Linked DNA regions of Homo sapiens: regions 1, 2, 3, 4, 5 and 7 are each linked to region 6. The links are contacts of gene promoters, found by promoter capture Hi-C in blood cells and fetal thymus (Javierre and others, 2016). All regions are on one chromosome and are shown on one strand. The core of a region is centred on a gene start or on the middle of the fragment in contact, and the rest is flanking DNA. Distances in the headings are between cores, read along the strand shown.

Region 1 (2,700 bases), core at 92-2,591, 180 kb after region 6:
AACCAAGCTGTGCCCCTACCACCTTGGGCACGTGTCATCAGGACCTCCTGAGGCTGTGTCATGTGCGTGCATTCTCAACCTTGGTCTCCTAATTAACTTTCTGAATTAACTGAGACCTGTCTCAGATTTTCGGGGTTCACAGAGCAATTTATAAATCTTAACCCTGGTGATATGGTTTGGCTCTGTGTCCCCCCAAAACCTCATCTCAAATTGTAATCCCCACATGTGGAGGGAGGGACCTGGTGGGAGGTGATTCGATCTTGGGGGTGGTTCCCCCATGCAGTTCTCATGAGATCTGATGGTTTATAAGTGGCCGTTTCCCCTGCACTGTCTCTCCTGCCACCTTGTGAAGAAGGTGCTTGCTTCCCCTTCCCCTTCCGCCATGAGTGTAAGTTTCCTGAGGCTTCCTCAGCAATGTGGAACTGCAGGTCAATTAAACCTCTTTTGTTTATAAATTACCCAGTCTCAGGTAGTATCTTTTTTTTTGAGACAGAGTTTCCCTCTTGTTGCCCAGGCTGGAGTGCAGTAGTGCGATCTCGGCTCACAACCTCTGTCTCCTGGATTCAAGTGATTCTCCTGCCTCAGCCTCCTGAGTAGCTGATTACAGGTGCCTGCCACCATGCCTGACTTTTTTTTTTTTTTTGTATTTTTAGTAGAGACGGGTTTTCATCATGTTAGCCAGGCTGGTCTTGAACTCCTGACATCGGGTGATCTACCCACCTCAGCCTCCCAAAGAGTAGGGATTACAGGCATGAGCCACCTTGTCTGGCCAGTATCTTTATAGCAGGTAGTATCTTTATAGCAGTGTGAGAATGGACTAATACACCCTTTAATCTTTTCCTCACTTCCTTCAACACTAATGATTTTTGTGAACATTTATCTACTAACATATATTTAACATTATCTTTTTAAAAATTTTTTTGTGAGAGGGGGTCTTGCTCTGTCACCCAGCCTGGGGTGCAGTGGTGTGATCGCAGCTCATGGCAGCCTTGACCTCCTAGGCTTAGGCGATCCTTCTGCCTTAGTTTTCCAAGTAGCTGGGACCACAAGTGTGCACCACCATGCCTAGCTAATTTTTAGATTTTTTTTTTTTTTTTTTGAGACAGAGTCTCGCTCTGTCACCAGGCTGGAGTGCAGTGGTGCCATCTTGGCTCACTGCAACCTCTGCCTCCCAGGTTCAAACAATTCTCTTGCCTCAGCCTCCTGAGTAGCTGGGATTACAGGTGTATGCCACCATGCCTGGCTAATTTTTATATTCGTAGTAGAGATGGGGTTTCATTATATGTTGACCAGGCTGGTCTCAAATTCCTGACCTCAGGTGATCCACCTGCCTCAGCCTCCCAAAGTCCTGGAATTACAGGCGTGAGCCACCACACTCGGCCTTTTTAAATCACGTAAATAATACACAGACTTAATCCTGCTATAGAAATTCAAATGTAGAGTCAACCGTGAAAGTTTCCCTTGTCAAGATTCCCTGGCATCTCCTCTTCCATTCTACTTAGGACCTTGGAATGGGGAGATGCTGCATTTTGGAGGTAAAAATTCCAATAGTAAAGTGAAAGCTAGCATTTACTAAGCAGTCCCCATGACCCAGGCACATATGAACTTTTGAAGGTTATCAGAATCAAAATGGAGTCACTCATGTTAAAAAAAAGAAAAAGAAAAAAAAGCTCCGACCAACAGAGTGAAGGAAAGCCATGGAGAGAGGGTTCTCATACTTGTATGACTGATCACAAAAACTATCACAAAAAAACTGCAAAAAACACAATCTCACACAAAGACCATTGCAAACTTACACAGAAAAATACTTCTGCAAGGACGTTTGCCCAGCAACTGCCTGTCCAACCCCAGACTGGCATCATCTTTGTGATTCATTTTTCTAGCCAAAGATGATTATTTCAAAACCATTATGTAATTCTCCTCATTTTTTTTCTTTAAAAACCTTTGTCTTCTTTGACCTCCTTGAATATGTATAACACTCCTATTCCCATTGCAATTCTCTGTTCTTGAATAAACTTTTTTTTTTTTTTTGAGATGTAGTTTCACTCTTTCGCCCATGCTGGAGTGCAGTGGCATGAACTTGGCTCACTGCAACCTCCACCCCCCGGGTTCAACTGATTCTCCTGCCTTGGCCTCCCTAGCAGCTGGGATTACATGCACCTGCCATGATGCCTGGCTAATTTTTGTATTTTTAGTAGAGATGAGGCTTTGCCATGTTGGTCAGGTTCGTCTCGAACTCCTGACCTCAAGTGATCCACCCGCCTCGGCCTCCCAAAGTGCTAGGATTACAGACGTGAGCCACCTCGCCCAACCAATTTTTGTTTCTTTTAGAGAGCCTCTCGCTGTTTGTTATCTAGGTTGACAACTAATTTAATCACAATAAAATCCACACTCCAAGCTAGGAGTGGCCTGTGCCTGTAGTCTCAGCTACGTGGGAGGCTAAGACAGGAGAATAGCTTGAGCCCAGGAGGTTGAGGCTGCAGTGAGCCATGATTGTGCCACTATACTCCAGCCTGGGCGATAGAGCAAGACCCTGCCTTAAAAAAAAAAATGGCTGGACACGGTGGCTCACGCCTGTAATCTCAGCACTTTGGGAGGCTGAGGTGGGTGGAGTACTTGCGTTCAGGAGTTCGAGACCAGCCTGGGCAATATGGCAAAACCCTGTCTCTACTAAAAATACAAAAAATTAGCCGGGCATGG
Region 2 (2,700 bases), core at 133-2,632, 170 kb before region 6:
ACTTTTGCACTCACCTAATAAAAGCTTCACCTGCTGGAAACAGTGGCTCACACCTGTAATCCCAGCAATTTTGGAGGCAGAGGCAGAAGGATTGCTTTAGCCCAGGAGTGCGAGACTAGCCTGGGCAATGTAGCAAGACCCCGTCTCTCTAAACAATTTAATTAAAAGTAAAATAGGCTGGGCACAGTGGCTCACGCCTGTAATCCCAGCACTTTGGGAGGCCGAGGCGGGCGGATCACGAGGTCAGGAGATCAAGACCATCCTGGCTAACATGGTGAAACTCTGTCTCTACTAAAAATACAAAAAATTAGCCAGGCGTGGTGGCAGGTGCCTGTAGTCCCAGCTACATGGGAGGCTGAGGCAGGAGAATGGTGTGAACCTGGAAGGCAGAGCTTGCAGGGAGCCGAGATTGCGCCACTGCACTCCAGCCTGGGCGACAGAGTGAGACTCCATCTCAAAAAAAGAAAAAAAAGTAAAATAAAAGGCTTCATTTATTAGCAAGGATGTGGAGCTACTGGGATTCTCACATCCAAGTAGTATGTGTGTAAAATAGAACAACCACTTTGAAAAACTATTTTTCAGTACCTACCTGTGTTTAAAGTGTGAGGAAAGCCAGAAGCAGTGGCTCACTCCTGTAATCCCCGCACTTTGGGAGGCCAAGGTAGAAGGAACACTTGAGCCCAGGACTTTGAAACCAACCTGGGCAACATGGTGAGACCTTATCTCTACAAAAAACTAAAAATATTAGTGGGGCATGATGGTGCATGCCTGTGGTCTCACCTACTAGAGAGGCTGAGGTGGGAGGATTGCTTGAGCCCAGGTATTTGAGGTTGCAGTGAGCTATGATCGCTCCATTGCACTCCAGCCTGGGCAACAGAGTAAGACACTGTCTCTATTTTTTTTTAAGTGAAGAAGATGTGAATGAAGATGTGGCAGTGCCCCTGAAGGGCTTACAATGTCAAATAGGGATAACATTTTCTGAACTTTCTCCTACAGCCAATGGGGATACATGGACTGATATAGAGAAGGGGCGAGGCATGGTCAAAGCCAGGTGATATGAGGCTCTCCCTGTGGCCATGCAGGAGACAGGCCCGAGGGAGTGAGATTGGAGGCAGGGAGACCAGGGAGGTGGATGGTGAGAGGGCCTCTCATGCTGCCTGGTTTCCAGAGTCAAGGGCAATTTAGGATTAAAAGGCTGGAGGCAGAAGGAGGAACTGAGAAACCAGAGTGTGAGTGTTATGGTCTACGAGGAGTTAAAGTCCCTTCTAAGTGAGGGTAGTGGTTTCCTCTGGAGGTTGGGGGTTCCCGATCATAAAGGAGCACATAAGGAGATTCTAGGGAATGCAAATACTTTCTCTTGGTGTGCCTTTGATTTTATGGAGGTTCACAATACATCATTTGTCCAAAATGTACCACTATGTTTTATGCACTTTTGGCATATAAGGTATATTTTATTTATTTATTTGTTTTTGTTGTTTTTATTTTTTGAGACAGAGTCTCGCTCTGTCGCCCAGGCTGGAGTGCAGTGGCACAATCTTGGCTCACTGCAAGCTCCGCCTCCTGGGTTTACGCCATTCTCCTGCCTCAGCCTCCCGAGTAGCTGGGACTATAGGCGCCCACCACCATGCCCGGCTAATTTTTTTTTTGTATTTTTAGTAGAGACGGGGTTTCACCGTGTTAGCCAGGGTGTTCTCGATCTCCTGACCTCATGATCTACCTGCCTCGGCCTCCCAAAGTGCTAGGATTACAGGCTTGAGCCACCGCGCCAGACCTATTTTTTTTTTAATGTCAAAAGCAAAGACATGGCTAGAGCTCAGGTCTTTGGACATCCATATTAGAGCTTTTTAATCTTTGGTGATAGGGATTCAGAATACTGGTTATCTCTGGTGTATCAGTTGGGAGGGTTACAAGAGAGCCTCTTGTGGTGATGGAGATAGCTTGATAGAGATGGTGGTCACACATGTCTGTATACAGGTTTAACTGAATTAATCCATACACTTAAGATCTGCGGACTTGCAATGTGTAAGTCTGTCTTAGGTCAGTCCTGGTGGCTCACGCCTGTAATCCCAGCACTTTGGGAGGTCGAGGTAGGAAAATTGCTTGAAGCCAGGAGTTCAGGACCAGCCTGGCCAACATAGAGAGACCCTGTCTTTACTAAAAATTTTAAAAGTAACTAGGTGCAGTGGTGTGCGCCTGTAGTCCCAGCTACCTGGAAGGCTGATGCAGGAGGATCTCTTGGGGGCAGGAGGTCGAGGCTGCAGTGAGCTATGATTGGGCCGCTGCACTCAGCCTGGGTGACAGAGTGAGACCCTGCCTCTAAAAAGAAAAAGAAAACAATTTTAAATGCCACATATGATTAAATGGTATTACCTCTAGGTTTTACACTGAAATAACATAGGAAGTGAGGAAGTAAATGGAAGCACAGATGAAATGCAATTGACCACGAATTGGTATTTGTTAAATAGATACATGGAGATTTATTATACTCTTCTGTTCACTTCTATATGTTTGAAGTTCTCGATAATAAATATATATGTACACATATATGAATATGTATGTATATATGAAAAGGTAGATAATAGATAGAACTAATACCTATTTAACTCACAGTGACCCATACACCCACTTGGGAACCCAGACATCTCTCTTCTTCTGGTAATGCAGATAATGATTATTTAATGTCTGGATTTTACATACAAC
Region 3 (2,700 bases), core at 117-2,616, 160 kb after region 6:
CCCTCGCAGGTAATGAGAGTGCATACCCGCCCAACGGCGTGGAGTGCTACAGCTGTGTGGGCCTGAGCCGGGAGGCGTGCCAGGGTACATCGCCGCCGGTCGTGAGCTGCTACAACGCCAGCGATCATGTCTACAAGGGCTGCTTCGACGGCAACGTCACCTTGACGGCAGGTGAGGGAGCCCCGGAGCACGGGACCTACGGGAGTTGTGGTAGCCCTTCTGAAGCACCCTGGGCGGTAGGGAGCCCTTTACCCAAAGCGTTTCCTTAACCTGCGACGCATTCTGGGAATCGTGGGGCCTAGGTGCTTGTATCGTAGGGCATCATGGAAAATGCAGTCCCTTCCCCCAACATATTAATAGTGTGGGGATAGTGATGCTTTGTCCCAGAGTGTTTTGGAGGGAAATGCATTTCCATAGAGGGCTGCCAGGTACTTAAGAGGTATTTAAGCCTCTAAGCTTCTGCCCAGGCACTGCGGGGAATCTCTAGTTCTTAGCCCTTAAAACTCAAGGGGTCCCCCGCCTGTCCCAGACTATTGAGAAATGTAACCATGGAAAATGAAGTTCTTCAAATCCCATCCCCTGCCAGTTATGCTATGGAAGATGTAGTTCTTTTTTATTTTATTATTACTATTTTTTTTTAAAGACAGCATCTTGCTCTATCGCCTAGCCTGGAGTGTAGTGGCGCAATCATAGCTCACTGCAGCCTCTACCTCTTGGGCTCAAGCAGTCCTCCCGCCTCAGCCTCCCAAGTAGCTGGGACTACAGGGTGCACCGCCACGACTGGTTCCTTTTATTTTTGGTAACAGTGGGGTCTTGCCATGTTACCCAGGCTGGTATTGAACTCTTGGGCTAAGAGATCCCCCTGCCTAGGTCTCCCAGAGTGCTGGGATTACAGCCGTGAACCACTGAGCCTGGTGTGGAGATGTAACTCTGACTCTAAGAGTAAATTCTGATGGGGAGGTAAAAGCCAGGGTGAAGGCTAAGGGGATAATGGTGAGAGGGTTGTAGAGGAAGTTTGTTCTGCACTGTGGTCTTGTGAGAGGTCTTGTATCTCAGTCTAAGCCTTTGTTTTAAACCCTACTTTTGGTTCAGCCTACACACATTTCCATTCAAAGCACAATGGAAAATGTTAATCCACCATGTGCCAAAGACAGTGAGTCTGTCTGTTTCTCATAGTAGGACCTGAGTTGAGATTTTGGGATTAATGGATGCAGAGACTTTCTGTCTCATTTTGGGGGTTCTCTGTTCTTTTTTTTTTTTGCAAGACAGAGTCTCACTCTGTTGCCCAGTGATCCACCTGCCTCGGCTTCCCAAAGTGCTGGGATTACAGGCGTGAGCCACCACGCCCGGTCAGGTTCTCTGTTCTTGTCTGATGCCTCTAAGTTTTGTTCTGGCCATGTCAACCTCTCTCCCTCCAGCCACTGACCTATCTGTGTCTCCTTCCTGCAGCTAATGTGACTGTGTCCTTGCCTGTCCGGGGCTGTGTCCAGGATGAATTCTGCACTCGGGATGGAGTAACAGGCCCAGGGTTCACGCTCAGTGGCTCCTGTTGCCAGGGGTCCCGCTGTAACTCTGACCTCCGCAACAAGACCTACTTCTCCCCTCGAATCCCACCCCTTGTCCGGCTGCCCCCTCCAGAGCCCACGACTGTGGCCTCAACCACATCTGTCACCACTTCTACCTCGGCCCCAGTGAGACCCACATCCACCACCAAACCCATGCCAGCGCCAACCAGTCAGACTCCGAGACAGGGAGTAGAACACGAGGCCTCCCGGGATGAGGAGCCCAGGTTGACTGGAGGCGCCGCTGGCCACCAGGACCGCAGCAATTCAGGGCAGTATCCTGCAAAAGGGGGGCCCCAGCAGCCCCATAATAAAGGCTGTGTGGCTCCCACAGCTGGATTGGCAGCCCTTCTGTTGGCCGTGGCTGCTGGTGTCCTACTGTGAGCTTCTCCACCTGGAAATTTCCCTCTCACCTACTTCTCTGGCCCTGGGTACCCCTCTTCTCATCACTTCCTGTTCCCACCACTGGACTGGGCTGGCCCAGCCCCTGTTTTTCCAACATTCCCCAGTATCCCCAGCTTCTGCTGCGCTGGTTTGCGGCTTTGGGAAATAAAATACCGTTGTATATATTCTGCCAGGGGTGTTCTAGCTTTTTGAGGACAGCTCCTGTATCCTTCTCATCCTTGTCTCTCCGCTTGTCCTCTTGTGATGTTAGGACAGAGTGAGAGAAGTCAGCTGTCACGGGGAAGGTGAGAGAGAGGATGCTAAGCTTCCTACTCACTTTCTCCTAGCCAGCCTGGACTTTGGAGCGTGGGGTGGGTGGGACAATGGCTCCCCACTCTAAGCACTGCCTCCCCTACTCCCCGCATCTTTGGGGAATCGGTTCCCCATATGTCTTCCTTACTAGACTGTGAGCTCCTCGAGGGCAGGGACCGTGCCTTATGTCTGTGTGTGATCAGTTTCTGGCACATAAATGCCTCAATAAAGATTTAATTACTTTGTATAGTGCTTTAAAGGAGTCACTTCCACCTTGTTTCTCGCAATAACCGCTCTAGCTGAGCTAGGGTGGGCATCATAAAGCCTTTAACGGGAGAGATATGGGACCTAGAGCCGCAGTCCTGGGGGAAGTCACGGTTGAACTTTAATCTCCTGGGTCTATCCTGCATGTGGGTGGTCCCACTGGTGAGGGGGAGACCGG
Region 4 (2,700 bases), core at 97-2,596, 210 kb after region 6:
GAGTACTGGGATTACAGACGTGAGCCACCACCCCTGGCCTATGTAAGCTTTCCAGGTGTGACATGAAGTTGTAGCAGGATGAGCTGCAGACAAAACTCCTCAGATACTGGATTAAAGAAGGAAGAGGTTTATTTGGCCGGGAGCCTCAGCAGACTTGCGTCTTAAGAGCCGAGCTCCCTGAAAAATAAATTCTTGGCCTTTTTTTTTTTTTTTGGAGTCTCCCTCTGTTGCCCAGGCTGGAGTGCAGTGGTGCAATCTCGGCTCACTGCAAGCTCTGCCTCCCGACTTCATGCCATTCTCCTGCCTCCGCCTCCCGAGTAGCTGGGACTACAGTCACCCACCACCACACCCGGCTAATTTTTTTGTATTTTTAGTAGAGATGGGGTTTCACTGTGTTAGCCAGGATGGTCTCGATCTCCTGACCTCGTGATCCGCCCGCCCCCCAAAGTGCTGGGATTACAGGCATGAGCCACCACGCCTGGCCAATTCTTGGCCTTTTTAAAGGCTTACAACTTCGAGGGGTCCACATGAAAGGGTCGTGATAAATCGAGCAAGCGTGGGAAACGTGACTGGGGGCTACATGCATCAGGTAACAGAACAGAAAGTTTTGCAATGCTTTTTCATATAATGTCTGGAACTTACAGATAACACAAGTAGTTTAGGTCAGGGGTTGCTGTTATTATTATTACTTTTTTTAACTCCTAGGGCTGGGTGGTGGTGCCAAGGTTGACTGGCTATTTATCTTACTTCTGTTTCTTTCCAACTTTTTGCTTTCTCTCTTTCCTCCTGTCTTGTGAACTAGGCAAGGTCGGGGGAGGAGGGCAGCAGGAGTAGTAGTGGTCTCCTTCCTTAAAGTAAGGCAACGCTTTGTATACTTTCAGAATTGGTACTGATTCTGTAAGTTATAGTATAAATGAGTATTTATTTTTAATAGAGAAAATGCCACAATAAGAAAGGGATTGGTAAAGCTTCAATCCCTTTGTTATCTTTGAACTGTTATCTTTGAATGATCACATGTCAAAGGATCCAGGAAGAATGTGTGCCAGTTTTCAGCCCCCGTCTGTCCCCCGAGGGCTCGTGCTTGGGAAAGCAGTCACCTTGTTGAGTCACTCTCCAGGTGACTTGGTCGCAGAATCCCTCCATCTCACACCTAGAAGAGACCTTGGAAGCCTAAGCACCCTCCACCTCTATTCTTCACCCCATTTCTGCTTCAACAGCTCCAGGGACCTCCTCTTGCTCCGTGACATAGTTTGGATATTTGTCCCCCGCCCAAATCTCATGTTGAAATGTAATTCCCAGTGTTGGAGATGCGACCTGGTGGAAGGTGTTTGGGTTATGGGGGCAGATCCTTCATGACTTGGTGCTGTCCTTGCAATGATGAGTGAGTCCTTGCCAGATCTGGTTGTTTAAGTGTGTGGCACCTCCCCTTCTTACTCTCTCTCGCTCCCCTTCTCTGGCCTGCATCCTTTTGCCATAAGTAAAAGCTCTCTGAGGCCTCCCCAGAAGGAGATGCTGGCACCACGCTTCCTGTACAGCTGCAGAACCTTGAGCCAATCAAACCTCTTTTCTTATAAATTACTTCTAGTCTCAGGTATTTCTTTATAGCAGTGCAAGAACACCCCAATACACAGCCCCTTGAGAAAGGTGGCTTTGCCTTTTTGGTGCAAGAGAGATTGACAGATCTTCCTTAGCCTGAGCCAATTTCTGTTCCTCTCCAAGCTTCAGTGTCCTCATCTAGAAAATGAAGAGGTTAGGCTGGGTGCAGTGGCTCAAGCCCATAATCCCAGCACTTTGGGAGGCCAAGGTGGGTGGTTCACCTGAGGTCAGGAGTTTGAGACCAGCCTGACCTTCACCAACACGGTGAAACCCTGTCTCTGCTAAAAATACAAAAATTAGCCAGGCCTGGTGGCACGCGCCTGTAATCCCAGCTACTTGGGAGGCTGAGGCAGGAGAATCACTTGAACCTGGGAGGCGGAGGTTGCAGTGAGCTGAGACTGCACCATTGCACTCCAGCCTGGGCAACAAGAGCAAAACTTGGTCTTGGTCTCAAAAAAAAAGAAAAAAAAGAAAAAAAAGAAAATGAGGAGGTTAGTCTAGAGCAATGGTTGGCAAATAGTTTATGAATCCATGGAACGTTTGTAAAAAAGAAAAAAGCTCAATGGCTAATATACAGTGAAGGCATCTTTTTATATAAGCACTTGTGACACCACCATTGGTCACTGGATTATTGCAGTACGCCCTGCCCTTGCCCATGTGGCTATTTCCCACCTGGCACCAGAGCGATCTCTTAATTGCAAGCCACACCACATTACTCCTGTTTAAAACTTTCTAATGGGCCAGGCACGGTGGCTCAGGCCTGTAATCCCAGCACTTTGGGAGGCCGAGGTGGTGGATCACCTGAGATCAGGAGTTCGAGACCAGCCTGGCCAACATGGTGAAACCCTGTCTCCACTAAAAATGAAAAAATTAGCTGGGCGTGGTGGTGCGCCCCTGTAATCCCAGCTACTCTGGATGCTGCAGCGAGAGAATCATTTGAACCTGGGAGGTGGAGGCTGCAGTGAGTCAAGATTGTGCTACTGCACTGCAGCCTGGGTGACAGAGCAAGACTCTGTTTCAAAAAAACCAAAACCTTCCAGTGGATTCTCATTTTACCTCAAGTAAGATTCTAGGCTGGGTGCCATGGCTCATGCCTGTAATCCC
Region 5 (2,700 bases), core at 32-2,531, 150 kb before region 6:
CCCGCCCTCTGTCATGAGTTTAAACTCCTTCACCTTCCAGGATCTTAGTTTTCACAATTGGGAAATTGGTCAGAATCAGGATTAATGAATGATCCCCCCACCATGTTTCTCAATTGAATGATGGGAGAATGGGGAGGAAGTCAAAGTTCCACATTCCAAGGCAGAAGTCCTGAAACTAGAATGTACTTCGGAATGAGGGGGTGGGGTTTGTGAACAGTACAGATTCCATCTTCGCTCCTAGAAACTCCAACCCGGTGGGTCTGGGGTGTCAGGGGCCCTCATGAATGAAGCTTTCCCTGCTGGTCTTGCGGCAAGGGGCCTGTGGACAAAGTTAGACAAATCTCAATGTTTCAACCCCTTCCATGGCTGGACTTAAATGTCTCCTCTGTGAAGTGAGAGGAAAGGAAGGCCGAGTCCCACCAAGCCTTTTTAGAGTCCTTTTTGGTCCTGATAGGGCCACTTCTGGACCACACAGCATCTTTGTGGAAATTAGAAAAATATACCCCTTCCTCTGGGTGGATGTAGCCACCAGTCAGGGTCTGACTGGGTTTTGGCCCCCTATCGACTCTCCACCCTCAACCACACGCTCTGAATGCTACAGCAGCCCGGGTAGCCTAGCTGAGACCATACCGGCATTGGGATTGGCCAGACCCAGTCTCAAATCCCAGAGTGGCTAAGCAACTTGCCCAGGTCACACAGCAGAGAGGAGGCCATGCAGGCTTTCCAAAGCTCAGAACTTAATGGCTTTTTGTCCAGGTGATTCTTAGGACTATGGGTGTATACTGGGAGGGGAAGGGAGGGAACCAGAGGGAAGGGGATGGGAGGGTATAGAGGGAAGGGGAGTGAATATCATGGAAACCTCTATGGTGGGGTTTTAGAACTAACCTACCCTTCCCCATAGGCAGGCTGTTAATGCCACTGGGCACCTTTCAGACACACTTTGGCTGATCCCCATCACATTCCTGACCATCGGCTATGGTGACGTGGTGCCGGGCACCATGTGGGGCAAGATCGTCTGCCTGTGCACTGGAGTCATGGTGAGTACAGCTGCCTTGGGGACATGATCCCTATCCCAAACTGGTCATCCTCTGGCCCCAGGAAGCCATGATTAAATGGGTTCAACACAGGCTCTCAGGGACAGCTCCTGAGAAACTTGAGTGTCTGGGGCCCCCAGAGCCCCATTCTCTCTTCAAGAACAAGATACTCACCTGTAATCCCAATATTTTGGGAGGCCAAGGTGGGAGGATCACTTGAGCCCAAGAGTTTGAGGGTACAGTGAGCTATGATCATACTGCTGCACTCCAGCCTGGGTGGCAGAGTGAGACCCTGTCTCTTAAAAAATAAAATAAAAAATCAGACCTAGGAATCCAGCCCCTAAGTCCTTGCTCTCTCTAGAACCTAGGGCCCCAGCCCTTATCCTCCTCAGGGACCCAGGCTCCTGACTTCGCAGCCCCATTTTCTTCCAGAACTGGGAAATCGTCTCCCAGCCTCCATCAAGGGTGTAGAGTCCAGTTATCAAGTGCATACCTGTGGGGCCAGGCTACCTGGGTCCGAATCCTGCGGCTGCCACTTCCTGGCTGGGGAGCTCAGGCGAGCCACGTGATCTCTCGGGGCCTCACTTTCCTCATCTATAAAATGGGGATGCTGATGCTCCTCATGGGCTTGCTGAGATGATTAAATGGGTCCAACTACGTAAAGTGCTTCCAACAGTGCCCAGCCCACAGGAGGTGCTCAGTAAACAGGTCTAGGGGTGGCCAGGCATCCAGCCACCCCACACCAGCTCCTGTTGCCCTCAAGGATGAGGCAGAGGCTCTGCAGCCTGAGTCAGCCTCTTCCTGAACCCTGACATCCACCTCCTTCCCTCCATAGACCCAGTCACTCAGGTCCTCCCACCCAGCCCTGGCCCCCTCTAGAGACTAGCACCTAATGCCTTGGCCTTCACCTCCCTACAAGATCGGGTTCCCCTCACCCTCGGGGACCTAAGCCACCAGCACCTAGCCCAGATGTGGGCCTAGGAAGGACATATTCATCCCCCAATCCCTAGGTGCACAGGTGAAGGATGTGGTGACCTCCACTCCCCCAGTGGTGAGTCTTTGGAGCAAGGGAAGAGGGGCAGAGACTCAGTTAGGGACCTGCAGCACCGCTCAGGACCTCCTCCCTCATTTGACAAAAGGAGAAACAGAAACCTAGAGAGATAGGGTGATGTGCACTTGAGCTCACAGCCTGCTCCTGGAAGAAAGGCTCCATGGCATGGTTGGGCCATAAAAGCTTACTTTTCCGGAGCACATACTCTGTGCCAGTCTCTGCCCTACACACTTGCCAGGGGTAATTCATGAAATCCACCTAGTAACCCTGTGAGGCCATTTCACAGATGAGACACTGAAATACTGAGAGATTAAATAACTTGCTCAGAGCTGGGCTTGGAACCCAGGCAGTCCCCTGGAGCCAGCGTTTGTGACTGGAAGTTGTTCTGAGTGATCAAGAGCTGAAACTATAGGGTTGGGGATGCTTCCTAGGAAGATTCCTTCTAACTTGGGGACAGGTGAGCAGATGCCACAAGCAGCTAGGAATTGCCAAGGCCTTGAAGGGCCAGGAGCATTGGGAGAAGGAAGGGAGGAGAATGAGTGTTCGGAGGAAGGTGCTCAGGGAGGGCAGGCAGCATGGAGCCAGGGCTGAGTTGTCCAGGTGGGAGGCATAGAC
Region 6 (2,700 bases), core at 176-2,675:
CAGCCCCATGTACTCTTCATGCCAGTTACAACCACCACCAACTCATGGCCAATCCCGATTTATCCATAACTCCAGTCAAATGTGTAAGTGCTATTATGGAGAGATCAGGAAAAGCCTCTCAGATTGACATCTGTACCAAGATATGAATGGTGAGCACAAGAGTAGGTATTCAAAGGTCAGAGGGAAAAGCATTTTCAGGCGGAGGGAACGGCAAGAGCAGAGGCCCGAGCTGGTAAAGAGTTTGGGGTAAGGTGGAGCTGGACAGAAATGGAGGGAGGAGGAAGTAGGTGGGGTCAGAAAGATAAGCACGGCCAGACCAGGTGTATAGCCCTGAGGCCATGATAAAGATTTTTGGATTTTTTTTTTTTCCTAATGGGATCCCTTTGGGGGAGTTTTAAGCCAGAATGTGACAAAGTCACTTACAGGAAGACTGGAATGTAGCCATAGTTGAACTCTAACATCGTCTATAGAACCATTTCCCGTCTCCAGTTAGGTTCTAGGCATACTAAGCTGCTCTTGCTTCCTCAATCAAAACATGCGCTTCTATTTTTTTTTTTTTTTTTTTGGCCTCTGGGCCTTGGCGCTTGCAGTTCATTCTGCCAGACCCATTCCCATTCTAGTTGGCTCCTATTCGTACTTGGCTTAAGGATCACCACCTCCTGGAAGTCTTTCTAGAACCAGAGGCCGGGGCAAGCGCCTCTTAGGCTCCCACAGCCCCCTGTGTTCCTCACTCCAGGTCTGACCTTCTGGGTAGTAGTTGTCTAATTAGGTGCGTATCTCCTTCGACTGGGGTGCCGTGAGTACAGGAGTATGGTTCACTGCAGAAACCACAGAATCCGCCAGCATGGGGCCTGACACCTAGGAGATCAATAAACCTTTATCCTGGTTGGGAGGGGTCCTGGCCCTCGTGCCCTCTCTCAGGATGCAAACTGATCCCCTACGAAGACAAGGCTACCCACTTCGCGTCAGTCTGCAGTCCCTGCGCGCATGCGCTTTGCTCAGGTTGCCCCCGCCATATGCTAATCACTGCGCTCTGGAGTAAGGCCCCTCCGGGGAATATGCAAATCACTCCTTCCAGTGCGGGAGGCCTTTCATTGTCCCGCGCTAGGATTATGCAAATAAGCAGGCCTCGGGCCCAGGATCCAGTCCGAACTAGCGCCCTCCACCCCCAGCGCATCCCAGTTTTGTAAGGCGCGTTCCTGCCCCGCACACGCACGCGCGAACCCTTCAGCTTCTTGTTCCTTTGGGCCGCGGGCTGTACCAAGTAAACCCAGGCAGCGAGGGGCAAAGCACGGCGCCCCCCGCGCGGGTCTCGTCGACGGCCCGACGCGCATAGCCCCTCTTCCCACAGCGCTACAGGACTAGTCCGTCTCGCCGCGCAAGCGCCCTAGGCTCTTCACGCCCCCTGCGCGCTGTCCTACCCTACTTGCGACGCAGGCGCAGAGGCTGGGCGTGCAGCCGCCGCCGCAGAGCCGGAGCGGGGGCCGCCGGCGCCGGTGAGTGTCCCGGGCAGGGGTGCGCGAGGCATGCCGGGAAGCGGGCGCTACGGCCCCGCTGCATGATGGGAGCGACGACTCCCGTCACCGGGGAGCCGGCGGTCTGGGGCCGTGGTGACCCGAGGGCTTCTTTTTCTCCCCCTACGCGTTTGTGCCGCCCTGGGGCATCCTGGGAGAACCGAGCGCTCCGCCTTGAAGCGCTGTGGGAGTCGGTCCGCTAGTCGTAGGCCTGGTGCATCCTGGGAAAGAGTGTCCCAGATCCTTGTCGAGACCGGTTCCTTTTATCCCACACCTGCCGCTGACCGTCCTGGAGGCTTGGAGCGCTTCCACACGGGGAGTCTGGGAAGGTGGTCGCTATAGGCCTAAGGCATCCTGGGAAGAACTGCCACAACGAATTGTGGGAACTGGCCGTTATTGTCCCGTAGTGGAAGGTTTTGCCCTGGTCTCTTTGCTCGAGCATTGGAACGGGTGCCTATTGTGTTCACGCGGGGCATCTTGGGAATTGACTGCTATAGGCCCAGGGCATTGTGGGGTCTCCAGCACTGTGTTTGCCTTTCAGTTTGGCTGCCATAGGCGTGGTAGGAGTGGGACTTGTGAACCAAGGGATGGCCCTACCTGACGTCTGGAATACTCTGGAAGGGGCCTTGTGTGACGTGGGCTTGGAAAAGTGTAGGCTGATGGGCATTGTCTCCTGGTAACTTCAGGGAATGTCTTGATTGTCCCAGGTGTGTGGTTGCCGTATAAAATATACAATGTCTAGTTAAATTTGAATTTCAGATAAACAATTATATCCAAAAGATACAACCTTTTAGAAAAGTATGTCCCAAATATCACATGGAACATAGCTATATTAATTCTTTGGGCTAGTTGCAGTGATACCAATACTTTGGGAGGCTAAGGCAGGAGGATCGCTTGAGACCAGGAGTTCAAGACCAGCCTGGGCAATATAGTGAGACCCCCGTCTCTACAAAAAAAAAAAAAAAAAAAAAAAGTAAAAATTAAGCCTGGCATGGTGGCGCATACCTGTAGTCCCAGCTGCTCTCCTAGGGGCTAGTAGGGTACCTTGAGCACAGGAGTTTGAGGTTACAGTGAGCTAACCTCCCAACCTGGTTATGGGGGAGTACATGAGTTAAGGCCTGGAAGCCCCTTTCCTACAGATCACCCTACTGCACTCCAGCCTGGGCAACTGAGCGAGACCCTGTCT
Region 7 (2,700 bases), core at 97-2,596, 210 kb before region 6:
GTTAAAAAAAAATTTTAATTATGACTACAGAAAAGATAAAAAATAATGTTTATATAACACCACCTAATTACTAATCTCTTCAAATAATCATAGTATAAAATAATGCTCTAATAGCAATCTACAAGAGGTGCCTTTCTATAACTCTTCAGTGCATCATAATGCACTGAAGTATTTGAACAATTTGCCATATGAACAGGTGGGTAAGAATTGTGGAGAAGAACAATAGGGGGCCACTGGGAGGAAATATGTACCAGCATGGCGGGTCATGTAACTGGGAAAACCCAGTCAAGATATTTCAGGCCAAGGAAAGAAAATGTTCTCATGACCTAGAAGCAAAGGTAATTGTATGTGTATGTATTTAAAAAGTATGTATAAAAAACCTCACCTGAACCTTGATTTCTAAACATGCAAAAATCCTTTTCTCCTCTTCAAACTCCTTCTTAGAAATCTGGCAACCTGGCAGCACTGGGGGAAAAAACAGTAACATGAGACATCAGCATTTCTAGCGCGTCACAGACTTAATTAAAAAAGAAAAAGAAGAGCAAAACACCCTCTGGGGCCACTTCTGCCTTCATCCACACAAAACCAAACGGAATGAAAAGGGAGGCTAGAGTCTGTCTCTGTGTTGAGGGCAATTCTTGGGGACAGAGGTCTGCTTGCAATGGCTCTGAAACATGTAGCTCACCACCAAAGAGCTCCTAGAGGCCCCTCTTCTAGGAATCCCACCTCTAGAACTTCCCCATCAGGTCTTGACAAGATCCTGTCCCGCGGACACTTCCAGATCTAAAATTCTCATCCTTCTTGCTTGAAACGTTCATTATGGGGCTTAGCATAGACTTCTTTCTTGCGGTCATTTAATTGTGGCAGGCCCGAAGACAGGCTAAAGGGAACCTAGAGCATTTGGTCAAAGCAAATCACATTTACAAATACGGCCACGCACCCTGTCAGCCCGTCACACATTCACAACTGCACCCACCTCCGTGGGGACACGCCCCGTCCCTGCCACGCCGTCTGAGACACACTGTCCCTCGGCTGCTCGCGTGCACACAGGCTTGAGGATCCGGACACGACACGCTCTGTCCGTGACCCAGCCCTCCCCACCTCCAGCACCCCCGATGCCACCCCCACCCTCACTGCCGGTTCCAGTCGGGCCCCAGTAAAGCCAGCCGAGCCCTCCCAGCTTCACCCGGGCTGATTACTTCTACAGACACGACCAACTCACCATGCAGAGTCCAAGAACCTTAAGGACACCGGAAAAGGACCCAGAGACCTGTGGTTAGTTTGGACCCAGAGGCTGATGGGAAACAAGAGCCTGGAAATGCTCGCAGGCTGGGAGAGGAGCTTCTGGCAGGCAAGCTCGCCCCGCCCCTAAAAGGCCTGTGCCCCGGAGACTTCTGGGAAATGTAGTCCACAGCGGCAGAGTCTCCGGAAGTTGAAACCTGGACAGCAGGGATGCTCCCAGCATGCAACTTGGCTTCACCTGTCAAAGGCGCTTTTTTCGAAGACGCCCGGGAGCTCTTGCTTTTGCTTGAGGGTCTTTGGTGTTGACTGAGAGCGAATTAAAAGGTTCTCAGCTTTCGCTAAGGAACGCATTCTGGAGTCTAGAACAGGCGAAGATGGGACTGGGGTGTCTGGGGACTTAGACGTGAGCGAGCAAGGGAATCCGGGGTAAGTTCGCTGGAAATGACCTGCGCGACACTACCAGTTTACCTGGGTATGAGCGCCTGGAACAGTGTCTGGCAATTGAACAGATGGGTGTGTCTTGCTGTGAGGGAGTTTCTTAGTTCGATTCGGTGTCTGGGACCCTGCGTGGACCTGTTTATGTTCATGGGATGTTTTCTAAATTTATGCCTGTGTGAGTCTGTTTTATTAGGTGTGAGATGAACTGTGTTACAGATTTTATATGCCGCTGTTGAAAGACAACAATAAGTGGTAGTGAGTGGATATTGTGACCGTGGAGACTTATGGCAGTGCAAAGGCGGCCATAAACAATGCACAAGCAATCCAGCATGGCTGTGTTCCAATAAAACTTGATGGATTATAAAATTTGAATCTCATTTTTTATAGAGTATGAAACCATTTATTCTGAAGCACACACTCATACTCCAAAAACAATACTATATATTCCCTCTCTCTCTCTCCTGTGTGTTTGCGTGTGTGTGTGTGTGGGTGTGTGAGAGAGAGAAAGGTTTTAAAGGAGACAACTAACTGATTCTGAGGTTAGGGCAAAAAGATTGGGGCTGTGGTTGGTGTGGTAAGAACCTTTGGATATAAATACTTTTTTAAAAAAGAATTGTCTAAAAATATTAAAGCGAAATTTTATATTAAAACTAACAGAAAGAAAAGGAAGTTACTTTTTAGGGGCTCTTTCTGGTCACTGATATCACCTCTCTCATCCTCTGCCATCTCTCACCTCCTGGTCTCTCTTGCTTATCAAGAGAAGACTAGAGCTCTTGGATCCCAGCTTTTCCCCTGCCTCAGCTGAGGCCACTACCCTGGTTGACTCCCATGGTGACATGGATGCCTCATCCAGTATCGTGGGTCTGAGTCCTCATCTGCAGGGTCCTTGAGCTTTCCTCGGCACCCATCCCCGTTTCCCATCTGGGACTTCATTATCATCAGCATCTGCTCCACCTCCAAAACCACTGGTGGAAGCAGCCTCCTCTCTTCCCATGTTACTTGCTCAATGACTCCCACAAG

Evidence for each region. Contacts are between HindIII fragments. The CHiCAGO score rates a contact against its expected background, and 5 or more counts as called.
Region 1: a fragment that was not itself captured here is called in contact with the fragment with the promoter of ZNF428 in region 6 in 9 of 17 cell types (naive CD8 T cells, activated CD4 T cells, total CD8 T cells and 6 more); the score reaches 10.7 in naive CD8 T cells.
Region 2: a contact is called between a fragment that was not itself captured here and the fragment with the promoter of ZNF428 in region 6, in 10 of 17 cell types (non-activated CD4 T cells, activated CD4 T cells, M2 macrophages and 7 more). The highest score is 8.7, in non-activated CD4 T cells.
Region 3: a fragment that was not itself captured here is called in contact with the fragment with the promoter of ZNF428 in region 6 in 11 of 17 cell types (fetal thymus, naive CD8 T cells, activated CD4 T cells and 8 more); the score reaches 12.4 in fetal thymus.
Region 4: a fragment that was not itself captured here is called in contact with the fragment with the promoter of ZNF428 in region 6 in 1 of 17 cell types (total CD8 T cells); the score reaches 5.2 in total CD8 T cells.
Region 5: a fragment that was not itself captured here is called in contact with the fragment with the promoter of ZNF428 in region 6 in 11 of 17 cell types (monocytes, non-activated CD4 T cells, activated CD4 T cells and 8 more); the score reaches 9.3 in monocytes.
Region 7: a contact is called between the fragment with the promoter of ZNF283 here and the fragment with the promoter of ZNF428 in region 6, in 15 of 17 cell types (activated CD4 T cells, neutrophils, monocytes and 12 more). The highest score is 23.5, in activated CD4 T cells.

What each region holds. Positions count from the first base shown.
Region 1 is chr19:43,441,077-43,443,776 of GRCh38, reverse strand. No RefSeq gene overlaps it. Among named protein-coding and RNA genes, the nearest start is that of LYPD3, 23 kb to the left of the region's middle. The HindIII fragment of the contact is 6,258 bases long and covers 1-2,700 here.
Region 2 is chr19:43,789,333-43,792,032 of GRCh38, reverse strand. No RefSeq gene overlaps it. Among named protein-coding and RNA genes, the nearest start is that of KCNN4, 9.7 kb to the right of the region's middle. The HindIII fragment of the contact is 2,711 bases long and covers 27-2,700 here.
Region 3 is chr19:43,460,597-43,463,296 of GRCh38, reverse strand. It overlaps LYPD3 (LY6/PLAUR domain containing 3), which reads left to right. Exons shown (of 5, transcript NM_014400.3): 4 at 10-171; 5 at 1,450-2,510. The coding sequence ends at 1,946. Among named protein-coding and RNA genes, the nearest start is that of LYPD3, 3.7 kb to the left of the region's middle. RefSeq lists enhancers at 21-70, 101-160. The HindIII fragment of the contact is 1,815 bases long and covers 459-2,273 here.
Region 4 is chr19:43,411,010-43,413,709 of GRCh38, reverse strand. It overlaps a transcript of TEX101 not described here. Among named protein-coding and RNA genes, the nearest start is that of TEX101, 2.5 kb to the left of the region's middle. RefSeq lists a silencer at 433-619. The HindIII fragment of the contact is 751 bases long and covers 971-1,721 here.
Region 5 is chr19:43,770,337-43,773,036 of GRCh38, reverse strand. It overlaps KCNN4 (potassium calcium-activated channel subfamily N member 4), which reads left to right. Exons shown (of 9, transcript NM_002250.3): 4 at 902-1,037. Among named protein-coding and RNA genes, the nearest start is that of KCNN4, 9.3 kb to the left of the region's middle. The HindIII fragment of the contact is 1,978 bases long and covers 293-2,270 here.
Region 6 is chr19:43,618,354-43,621,053 of GRCh38, reverse strand. ZNF428 (zinc finger protein 428) reads left to right here and starts at 1,425. Exons shown (of 3, transcript NM_182498.4): 1 at 1,425-1,496. LOC105372411 (a long non-coding RNA gene) reads right to left here and starts at 1,993. Exons shown (of 4, transcript XR_001753942.2): 1 at 1,422-1,993. RefSeq lists a silencer at 1,372-1,611 and an enhancer at 1,416-2,066. The HindIII fragment of the contact is 4,307 bases long and covers 1-2,700 here.
Region 7 is chr19:43,825,967-43,828,666 of GRCh38, reverse strand. It overlaps ZNF283 (zinc finger protein 283), which reads right to left and starts at 1,346. Exons shown (of 7, transcript NM_181845.2): 1 at 1,223-1,346; 2 at 386-465. RefSeq lists an enhancer at 1,289-1,488. The HindIII fragment of the contact is 6,325 bases long and covers 1-2,700 here.